4 separate regions of the Homo sapiens genome follow, and regions 1, 3 and 4 are each linked to region 2. The links are contacts of gene promoters, found by promoter capture Hi-C in human tissues and cell types (Jung and others, 2019). All regions are on one chromosome and are shown on one strand. The core of a region is centred on a gene start or on the middle of the fragment in contact, and the rest is flanking DNA. Distances in the headings are between cores, read along the strand shown.

What was found. Contacts are between HindIII fragments. The study calls those that stand out against the background at their distance.
Region 1: a contact is called between a fragment that was not itself captured here and the fragment with the promoter of OR6B2 in region 2, in 1 of the 25 tissues and cell types used here (mesendoderm cells).
Region 3: a contact is called between a fragment that was not itself captured here and the fragment with the promoter of OR6B2 in region 2, in 1 of the 25 tissues and cell types used here (dorsolateral prefrontal cortex).
Region 4: a contact is called between a fragment that was not itself captured here and the fragment with the promoter of OR6B2 in region 2, in 1 of the 25 tissues and cell types used here (dorsolateral prefrontal cortex).

Annotation. Positions count from the first base shown.
Region 1 is chr2:240,358,058-240,360,757 of GRCh38, reverse strand. No RefSeq gene overlaps it. Among named protein-coding and RNA genes, the nearest start is that of GPC1, 76 kb to the left of the region's middle. The HindIII fragment of the contact is 9,023 bases long and covers 1-2,700 here.
Region 2 is chr2:240,029,080-240,031,779 of GRCh38, reverse strand. It overlaps OR6B2 (olfactory receptor family 6 subfamily B member 2), which reads left to right and starts at 1,351. Exons shown (of 1, transcript NM_001005853.1): 1 at 1,351-2,289. The coding sequence starts at 1,351. The coding sequence ends at 2,289. The HindIII fragment of the contact is 5,539 bases long and covers 1-2,274 here.
Region 3 is chr2:240,329,291-240,331,990 of GRCh38, reverse strand. No RefSeq gene overlaps it. Among named protein-coding and RNA genes, the nearest start is that of GPC1, 110 kb to the left of the region's middle. The HindIII fragment of the contact is 5,119 bases long and covers 1-2,700 here.
Region 4 is chr2:240,420,084-240,422,783 of GRCh38, reverse strand. No RefSeq gene overlaps it. Among named protein-coding and RNA genes, the nearest start is that of GPC1, 14 kb to the left of the region's middle. The HindIII fragment of the contact is 4,483 bases long and covers 1-2,700 here.

The DNA.
Region 1 (2,700 bases), core at 58-2,557, 330 kb before region 2:
CCTTTTTCTTCTAGATCATTGTTTGCATTTTCCTGCTTCTTTACCTCCTTTATGCCAAACTCTCTGTATAAAGGAATTATAGAGACTCTAGATGGCATCATCTTTTGTGTTTTCCTGTGAGGGGAATAGGGTGAGAGGATTATCATATAAACCTAGCTGGGAATGGAGCTGAGTCCCAGTCAAGTGGTGTCTTTGATGAGACTCAGTCTGCCTCTGTCCTTCCCTGTTTCTTAAGCATGTCTCTCTGGGGTTTGACTGAGAGCCTGCTGGGTCCTCTCCTCATCCCTGAGATACTGTAAAGAGATTGAGATCTTTCCTTTGAGGGTTTGAGCCTAGGTCTTTAGTCTCAAGTTCTGGTGGCTTAGAAAAATCTGTCCAAAGTGGGGTGGTGGAGGATGCCAGCTCCTCCTGATGCTGCCTCATGCTATCTAGAGAGGATTCATCTCTAAGTAGCATGAAGTGGTTCACTGCCCCTTTTAGATACCCTTGGCCTAGGTCCCTGGACCTCACATACAGTTTCAGAAATCAATACGTGTTTAAGGGGGAACCAGCATTTCATCAGCCACTCTGTGGGCTACTACGTGCTTTCTAATCAGAATGTAAAAGAATGAGCAGCCCCATCCCTCTGCTCCTTGTGTGGTTGAGAAGCCTGTGAACACTCAGGGCCCTCAGCAGATGCCGAAGACCCCTGCCCAAGCCTTCTCCTGGAGGGGTGCTCCCAGCCTCTGATTGGGCTCCCGCTTGTCCTGTGTGACAGATCCAGGGCTCTCCATGGGACCCTTCATACCAGGTCTCAAGGGCACCCAGGCTCCTGGGACAGCCTGGAGTGTGTCAAAGGCAGGGGCAGCACTGCCCTGGAACCCACTTCACTGCAGGACCCCCAAACAGGGAGTGTGGCCCTGGCCACTCCAGGACTCCTCCTTGTTGCATCAGGGGCCCACATCCCTGTTCCCCTGTGCCAGGCCCAGAGGAGAGAGCAGGTGGACACCTCCTTGTCCCACCAGGGACCCACGTCCCTGTCCCCTCTGCCAGGCCCAGAGGGGAGGGCAGGGACACCTCCTTGTCCCATCAGGGACCCACCTCACTGTCCCCTCTGCCAGGCCCAGAGGGGAGGGCAGGGGACACCTCCTTGTCCCGCCAGGGACCCACGTCCCTGTCCCTTGTGCCAGGCCCGGAGGGGAGGGCAGGTGGCTGGTGGGTGTGAATTTCTCTGTTTCTGATCCTCAGTCCCCTGAGACCCACTGTCTTGAGCCTAGGGCTCTCCCTGCCCCACCCCACCCTTGGATTTGGTAATGAGAGAAAGATGGGTGGGGGTTGGTTTGAGGGGAGAGCAGGCACTGAGGCCCATCAACCAATCCAAGGGAGTCAGCCCTACCCTAGGGGTTCATCGCTGCTCAAGGAGGCTCAGCCCTGCCCTAGGGGTTCAGCTCCACCCTAAGGGGTCAGCCCTATCCAAGGGCGTCAGCCCTGCCTGAGGAAGCATCCCTCCATTGGGGGAACCAAAGAACTCTTGGGTGCCAGGATCTGGGCGCCACCCCTGCTCAGGGCCAGGGGGAGAGCCTCTCCCTTGAGGGTGAGGAGCAGGAGTGTCCCTGGGCTTGTCTGGGCCTGGTGGCATGAGGGCGGCATGCAGTGGGTGGGGTGTACTTCAGGTGATCCCCTTGTCGCTCATGAATCTGTCAGCCAAACCCCCACCCTCTCACCCTCCTACTGGGTGCACCACCAAGAGAACCAGGAAGAGGCGGCCGAGTGGCTGCTGGACTCTGCAGGGGTGTGGGTCGCTCCTGGTGCTGGGGCCGTTCACGACCCCATCCTACTCAGGGTGTGGTGTGGGGAGGGTCCCGGAGGGGCTGAGGAGGGGTCTGCATGCCCAGCAGGCAGCGGAGGCTTCTGAGGGTGAGCTGAGTAGGGAGTGAAGAGGCTGAGCTGCGTCAGTGGAGTCTCAGGAGAGCAGCAGCTGCCTGGAACCTTCCCGAGGGGTCGGGGGTCATTGCCCAGATCACACGCATTTCTCTTTCCCTAATGCCTAATGTGAGGTCCCCACAGCTCAAATCGATCCAACCAGCCACCACCCCAGAGGACCCCAGGACCACCTGTGGCCCTCTCCTCCAGCTCCTCCTCACCCTGCCCAAACCCGGTCCAGTCCCGTCTCCGTTCTCCTGCGCCAGCCCCAGATGACCCCGGCCCTCCTTGGGAGGCTTAGAAGGGCTTCCTAGAGACGTTGGCTGCTGAGTTATCCGGAGCTGAAGAAGTGGGTAAGGGTGTTCAGGACTAGGGAGGGACAGGGAGGCTCCGTCTAGGCAGGGCTGGAGCCTGGTGAGGAGGGGATGGCGAGGGATCCTCGTGGGAGCTCTGTGGGGGTGAAGCCAGCCCTGCTGAGGGGCCCAGCCCACCTCTCCGCCAGCTCCTCCCCTAGGTGCTTATCAGTGCCGGCCCCTTTGTGAGCCTGTGGGAGCTGGCTGGCAATTCAGGACCTTGAAGCCCCTGCAGGGTCCAGCCCCATGCTGGTTCCCCATGTCCTCCATGCTTCATGAAGCAGCAGGTGTGTTCCCTGCCTGGGCCTGGCCCCTGGGGCGCTGGAGAAGCTGCACACAGCTGGCAGAGAGGGGCCACTCGGAGAGGGGAGAGGGAGCAGCACCACAATACCCAGGAGACAGGGGTCAGAGGGCAGAGGCTACGGCCACCAGGCTGGCATGGTGT
Region 2 (2,700 bases), core at 102-2,601:
CCTCTACTGTTCTGGGTTAAAAGCACAAGAACCAAAGCTCACTACCCCCACCGCCAGCTCTCCCCAGCAAACCCAGTCAACAGGTGGGGGCTGCTGGCCTTCCAAGGAGCTCCTGTGGACCCCAACTTTCCTCCTTGTGGACTTTAAAGCCCCCTGTGGCCACTCAGCTGGGAAGAGGACACAGTCACCACCCTGGATGGTGTCTAGAGAGGCTACATTCAGACTCACATCTTGAGACCCCTTTAATGGCAGGGGTTCTTATTGCTTTTGTTTTGGGGAGACAGTAGGCGGTGACTGGAGTGAGTAGTAAATGCTTGTGAAATTGATCCTAAACTCTGAACTGCACGCTGGCATTTTAAGGCAGGGAATGGCCATGCCGCCCCAGTGGATGATCTTGGGTTCCCACAGAATGCTCACCCTAGACGGCAGGAGTACAGGTGCGTTTCCAAGTGTAAACCTGTCCCTGGGCAATTCCCTTCTAGAAGTTTGTTTTTCAGCCTGCAACTCTTCCATGAACTCGACTTGTCTAGCCAACCCCCTACACGTCACCATGAGGCTCTCCAGTAAGTGCCGCGCACCACGCCTCCCCAGCACAGACTCCAGATTATTCGGCACCCACCTGGCCCTCTCCTAGTCTTCTCATCAATTTTTAGCATCCTGGGCCAGAAACCTGGGGTCACCCTCCCCAGCTGTGAGCTGGTGGAAGTCTGCCATTCAACCCACCTAGACTGCCAATGAAAAGAACCACCAGATGCCCTGTGGGGCAAGGGGCTGTGGCTACCCTCTCTCTCCCCCACCTGTGGACCAGGTCCCCCAGAGCCAGGCAGCCCTTTCCTGGGAGCCCTCCCTGCATTCCTCCGGCTGGTTAGCCCAGTTTGGGGTTCTGCCCTGGTAGGCTGATAGCCCCTCACCTCATGCCGAGGCTGCTGCCCCGACTTGCAGGAACCCTCAGATGAAGGACCCTAAGGAGGGCCAGCTCTGTGTCCATGCCCACTTGGATCTTGAGAGCTGCCCCAGGCACGTGTGGACTGGTAGTGCCCCTGGACTCAGAGCTTTGGGTTTTGCCCACCCTGGAGCTGCCCGGCTCTGTTCCTCAGCATATACTCTCTTCCTCATTCCTACTTCATGGTTATATGTAAATGCAAGCACACAGAAGTTTTCTACTTTAAAACTCAGAAGATCAGCAGATCACTGCTCTCTCCTGGTGCTCTGGGGAGCCACGTGGCCTCTCTTTGCACCAAAACTCCCCATCCAAGTCCAGCTCCACTCTCTCTCTGCCTCAGCTGCCCTGCAGCCCTTTCCTCTTGCTCTTTGATGTTTTGTAGGCCTGCAGCTCCCAAGCACAGAGGCATGAGTGGGGAGAATGTCACCAAGGTCAGCACCTTCATCCTGGTGGGCCTCCCCACGGCCCCAGGGCTGCAGTACCTGCTCTTCCTCCTCTTCCTGCTCACCTACCTCTTTGTCCTGGTGGAGAACCTGGCCATCATCCTCATCGTCTGGAGCAGCACCTCCCTCCACAGGCCCATGTACTACTTTCTGAGCTCCATGTCTTTCCTGGAGATCTGGTACGTGTCTGACATCACCCCCAAGATGCTGGAGGGCTTCCTCCTCCAGCAGAAACGCATCTCTTTCGTCGGGTGCATGACGCAGCTCTACTTCTTCAGCTCCCTGGTGTGCACCGAGTGTGTGCTTCTGGCCTCCATGGCCTACGACCGCTACGTGGCCATCTGCCACCCGCTGCGCTACCACGTCCTTGTGACCCCGGGGCTGTGCCTCCAGCTGGTGGGCTTCTCCTTTGTGAGTGGCTTCACCATCTCCATGATCAAGGTCTGTTTTATCTCCAGCGTCACGTTCTGTGGCTCCAACGTCTTGAACCACTTCTTCTGTGACATTTCCCCCATCCTCAAGCTGGCCTGCACGGACTTCTCCACTGCAGAGCTGGTGGATTTCATCCTGGCCTTCATCATCCTGGTGTTTCCGCTCCTGGCCACCATACTGTCATATTGGCACATCACCCTGGCTGTCCTGCGCATCCCCTCGGCCACCGGCTGCTGGAGAGCCTTCTCTACCTGCGCCTCTCACCTCACCGTGGTCACCGTCTTCTATACAGCCTTGCTTTTCATGTATGTCCGGCCCCAAGCCATTGATTCCCAGAGCTCCAACAAGCTCATCTCTGCCGTGTACACTGTTGTCACGCCAATAATTAACCCTTTGATTTACTGCCTGAGGAACAAGGAATTTAAGGACGCCTTGAAAAAGGCCTTGGGCTTGGGTCAAACTTCACACTAAGACAACTAAATGTCCTAGAGTAAAATCTGTAGTGATGAAACAACATTGTATGTGGCACTTTGTGCTCTTTAAATTAATTTTTAAGTTAAATTTAACAAACCTACAGAACTAAGTGAAATTTAACAAACCTACACAACTGTGCACAAGTAACAAGCCTTCGTCTGCATATGTTTTCACAAAAGGACTGTGCTCATGGAACCAGCTCCCAGATCAAGAACTAGAAGCTGCCTTCACGCCCTCTCCCAGTCATTAACCCTTCTCCACAAAAAGCACTGTCCTGACTTCCAAAACCAGATGCTAGCATTGGTGTTTCTGAGGGGCTTACACATAAAGTATGTGCCCTGTTATGTTCAGCTTCTTTCATTCACCGTGTTGCTTGAGTGAATCCTTGATGTTTTTGCATGTAACAAT
Region 3 (2,700 bases), core at 4-2,503, 300 kb before region 2:
TATAGTAAGAGAAAATATTTGCAATCATATGTCTCTTAAGGACCTAGTCTCCAGAATATTGAAAGAACTCTCATAATTCTATAAGAAAAAGACACAGAAGCCGATTAAAGACTGGACAAAGGATTTGAATAGACATTTCTCCAAGGAAGACATATGAATGGCCAATAAGCACATGAAAAGATGTTCAATGTCATTAGTCATTAGGGAAATGCAAATTAATGGCAGGCTATAATTGAAGAAGGAAAACAACTGTTGGTGCAAAGATGTGGAGAAATGGGAACCCTCATCCATTGCTGCTGGGAATGCAACACGGTGCAGCCACTTTGGAAAACAGTCTGGTAGTTCCTAAAAACCTCAGACATGGAACTACCATATAACCCAGCAATTTCTTTCTTAGGAATATACCAGAGAGAACTGAAGACATATGTCCACATAAAAGCTTGTACGCAAATGTTTCTAGTAGCATTACTCTTAAGAGCCACGAAGGGAAAACAACCCAAATGTCCACCAGCAGATGAACAGAGAAAGGAATGAAGCACTGAATCATGCTACAACACGGACGAGCCCCCCAAAAAATTATGCTAAGTCAAAGAAGCCAGACACAAAGGGCCACAGATTTTATGATTCCATTTATTTGAAATATCCAGCATAGGCAAATCTATAGAGACAGAAAATAGGTTAGTGTTTGTCAGGGGATGGGTGGGGAGGAGGCATGGGGAGCACCTGTTGATGTGGAATTTTGTTTTAGGGTGATGAAAATGTTCTGGAGTTAGTGGTGACGATTGTACAATCTCATAAATAGCTACTGAACTGCACACTTTAAAATAGAGAATTTTATAGCATTCTATAAATTATATCAATAAAGAAAGAAGAAAAGATGAATAAGAAATCACATAACAATGTGTTCTTCCTTTATTGATGTAATTTATATAAATGCTGCTTTATATATAGCATAACTTTTACATATTTGTATTTTGATATAATATAAAAATTATGTATTAATATATTTACATCATCACATGATTTCTTATTCAAACAGTACCTGGGAAGAACACACTCTGAGACTTTGTGTATCTGAACATGTCTTCATTCTTTATTTACTTTCCCTTACTCATTGATTGATTGATTGATTGCTAGCTATGTAGGGCATGCCCCCTAGATATCTCCCTGGCTAATGCTTTCCTGGTGACTATCTCTTGGATTTTAATCACAAGTTGGTAGAACTTATGTCTTGAAATATATCAGTTTTTCAGTGGATGTTTGTGTGTACAGGAAAAAGTTACATCACTATTCTCAAAATGCAATTTGCAATTTTAAGTAAAACGATTGAATTACATTCCACATACAACAGGTAGAATGCCAGCACATTAGCAAAGGGTGTGGGACTTGGAGACAGCTGGTTCAGAAGCATCCCAGTCCATACAGCAGCCATGCGTGCACAGCCAGGCTGATTGTTCATGACTAGGATGGGCTGTCTATATTTTATACTCAAACATGATTCGTTACTAATATACAGAGGTTCCATCATGTTTTATCTCATTTTGGAAAAGTAGGGGGGGCAGTAAGATTGATATATAATACAGTATAATTATTCCTTTTAAAATAATAGAAAGTAGGTTCCCAGGTAGCATTTTCATGCAGAATGGCTGATTTGGGGGAATGGATTATTGATGCTACATGTGAGATGTCTGTTGTTTGGCTGGGTTAGAATTCTAGGTTCAAAACGATTTTCTGCAGGAAAATCACTCACACCTGGCAGGTGTTATTCCAGTGTCTTCTTGGGTCCAGGGTTGCTGCTGAGCCATTTGATGCCACTCCGGTTTTTGTTCTTGTTGAGTGGCCTCTTTATCCTCTCTGAGAGCTTTTAGAAGCTTTCCCTGGATGGCTTGCTGACCACCTGTGCCATATTTGAGTGTGCTCCCCTGGGCAGGCTGCTGACCCTCCCGCATCTCAGCTCCTCAGCTGTGAGCTGCAGGCGAGGATGACATGCTTCTCTCAGGTTGCTGTGAAGACAGACACGGGGCCATATTGGGGGCTGCCTGGCAGGTGCCACCTGGCCTTGGCCACTGTCAGTGTTCCCCTGCCTAGGTTCACGCTCCCATGACTTTGCCGGGCTCTTGATGCTGACCCCATCTGGCCTCCCTGGTGCTGGTCTGGGAGAACCATCACTAAGTCCTCCTCAAGAATCCCTGACTTCTTTAAAGCCCATATTGGTCCCTGCCCCAGGCTCTCAGGGTACTACCCATGCCCAAGGCTGGGCCTGCTGCCCGTGCCGTGCTGTAAACCAGGCCCCTGAAACAGCAACAGCAGCAGCTGCGGGAATTTTAGTGTACTCCAGTCTCCACGATCTATCCTGCTATCCCCACTGGAATCTCCTGTGAGGTCGGTGAACACAGGGTTGGGAAGAGGCCTGCATGTGTTGGCTCCAGGGCCAGGGGCTGCTGCCCCAGCTGCCAGCCCCTCCTCCACCCTCTGCGGCCCCTGCCCTGAGAAGCCCCAGCCTAAGCTGCCCACACCCGTGTGCCCTAGGGGACGTTCCCTCCAGCAGAAGGGACCCTTTGTCCTCTCCTGGCCTGGCTGCCTCCAGTGCACACTTCCGTAGCTGCCTTTCATCTTTGCATCCACCCCCTCACCTGCTCCGGACCCTTTGGGGCCGGGACTTGTCACATCTCCCTGTCCCCAGGGGCTAGCCCACGACTG
Region 4 (2,700 bases), core at 110-2,609, 390 kb before region 2:
ATTGCTGGGCTAAGGCCACACTGTTTTGAATAATGTAGTTTTGTAGGATGTACATTTCTTCTTATTCAAAATTTCTTGCTATTCTTTCCAGTGTCTCCCCCAGATGAACATTGGATTCATCCGTCAAGATCCATAAATAATGGATGAGAATTGTCTGGAGCTCATAGATTAGTTCTGGGAGAATTGATATTTTCTCAGACATCCAGGTATTCTAGGTATTTCAAATTCTCCCTTTATTCAATTTAAAAAATTGCTTTGCAGTAAAGTCTCACGTTTTTCATCATCTAGCCCTTTTTATATTTTGGGGTTTATTCTTAGTTGTTTTAAGGCTTTGTCTATTGTGAGCAGTATTTCTGAGCATACGTTTTCATTGGTAATTGCTGTGTTTAGGGAAGTCATTGGCTCCATTGATCTTTCAAGTCACAGCTTTGCTAAATTGTTTCCTTACTTCTAATACTTTTTCAGTTGGCTGCCTTCTGATTTCTAGGTAGACAATCATAGCATCTGAAAGTAGTGATGACTTAATCTTTTAATTTCCAGGTATTTATGCCTTTCATTTCTTTTTTTAATAAATGCATTACTATCCTTATTAGGATCTCTAGTATAATAGTAAAGATAAAATTGGTAATGATGAAAACACTCATGTTTTCTCCTGACCTTAAGACTAATGCTTTGAAAGTTTTATCATTAATTACAATATTGACTAAAGGCTTCTAGAACAAACTGTTATCAAGTTGGGGAAGTTGTTTCCTATTCTTTCCTTGCTACAAGGTTTCTTTTTAAAGTCCTAGTAGGGAAGGATATGGAATTTTTTCAACATCTGTTTCCATGATCGTATCATTTTCCTCAACTCAGTTCTTGGTGTAGTGAGTTATGCATCTAGAATTACTGCTATTAACCCATCCTTGCATTCCAGGACTAAACCCTACCTGCAATGGAAGCATTTGCAATGCCATCCTGGATGTGATTTGTTGAGGCTGGGCCCTAAGCCCTGTCTGTTTCCATGGTCTTGCAGGGCTCTCCTGCTGTGGGGGTCTCCTTGGGCTCAGAGCACTCCTGTGGCAGCAAGGCCAGAGCACAGGTGATGCTGTCTCTGCCTTGCACTGGCTGCTGTTCTGATGAGGCGTGAGCAGTGGCTTTCCTGGCCTGTGTGGCACGAGGACACTTGTCAGGCCTGGGTTGCCCTGGCCAGCTTCTCCTGGGGCTGCATGTCCCATGGCCTGGCATGGGCCCTGGGGAGCCAGGGCCTGCTCCATCCCCCCTCTGGGATCCTTGTAGCCTGCTCAGTGTCCCCGCATCAGTGTTGCTTGTGCTTGCTGACTGTGCCTTCCTGCCTGCTGGCCACACCTGTCCAGGGGGACCTGGAAATGGACAGGGGTGCTTCTGATGGGATTCTACACCCTTCATCTGCTTGGGGAGAAGGCACCCACACCCGTGAGTTATGTCATGAAAAGCATACTTGTAAAGCTGGCTTCCTCCCTGACCCTGGGGCATCCTGGTCTTGTGCATCCCAGTTGGGAGGAATCACCACTCTCTGCATCCAGGCCCAGCAGCTGCCTTCCAGGGTCCTGGGTGTTCCTCCTGCAATATCTCTTTAAAGTTGGTAATTTGGAAGATTGAGCTGGAAATGCACAAGTGAGTGCTGCCTGAGGGCTGGGGGTTTTGGGGTGGAGGCTGCCACCTCACATGAGGCCTGGATGCTAGTTTGGGCCTTTTGTGGGCCTAGTGTCCCTGGCAGGCCTCTGGCACCACTGCTGTGTTCCTGGGCAGATCCGCAGAATGGGACACTCTTGGAAGCAAAGACACCCATCCTCTAATTTTCTTATCCTTTCCGAAACCGAGCTAAACCCACTGCTCAAAATTGTCAACACGTGGCTTCCAGCCCTGGGGAACAGGATTGATGGCCTTGTCATTCCACATGGGCATGTGGCTGAGTGGCTACTGTGGGGGTGGTTCCCATCTGCAGAGGGCGTGGGGCCCTGTGAGGACCTGACTGTCCTTCCCTGTGGGCCGAGGAAGCCCCTAATGTCGGGGCACGCACACCAGAGGAACCGGAGGAGCCAGGCCATTTGTGCTGAGGGGATAGGATAGTGGGCAGCAGCCCCAGGACCCTGCCTGCCTATCCTGAGGGCCCAGACCAGATTCCCGGTCCCTCTGGGGTCCCACAGCCTAGGACTTGCCCACAACTCTGGTTTTGGGGCCGTTTGCTTGCCCAGGAGGTCGTCCTTCCATTCTTCATCCCTCAGCCCTCCCATTCTCCCGGGTACTCCCATAAGGCAAGCCTCGGGCCAAAGTATCAGCCGTGCCTTTCTAGGTCTTCTCCATGCCCCCAGCCCCCCACTCTGAAGTGGACCAGACCCTCCCAATGTGTGCCAAGGGTGCTGAGCCTTCGGGCACTGTGGGTGGTGTCTGCTTGCCTATGTCTGCCCCTGGCCCACTGAGGGGGTCAGGAAAGGGTCTTCTGGGTGCCTGAGCAGTGTGCAGTCTCTGAAACGGACTTGTGGGGTGGGGGCAGGGTTCAGTCCATGGCCCCCCCATCAAGCTTCCTTGGGACCAGGAGCCCCTTGCAGGCTGCCCGGCTCCTCTGCCACCAGCTGGGGCTTGGCCTGGCTATGGCTCTCAGATACTGGCCTTAATGGTCTGGGAGCTGGGGGTCTCCACGGGCCTCACTTGGCCATCTGTGGCCTGGGCCAGGCTGGC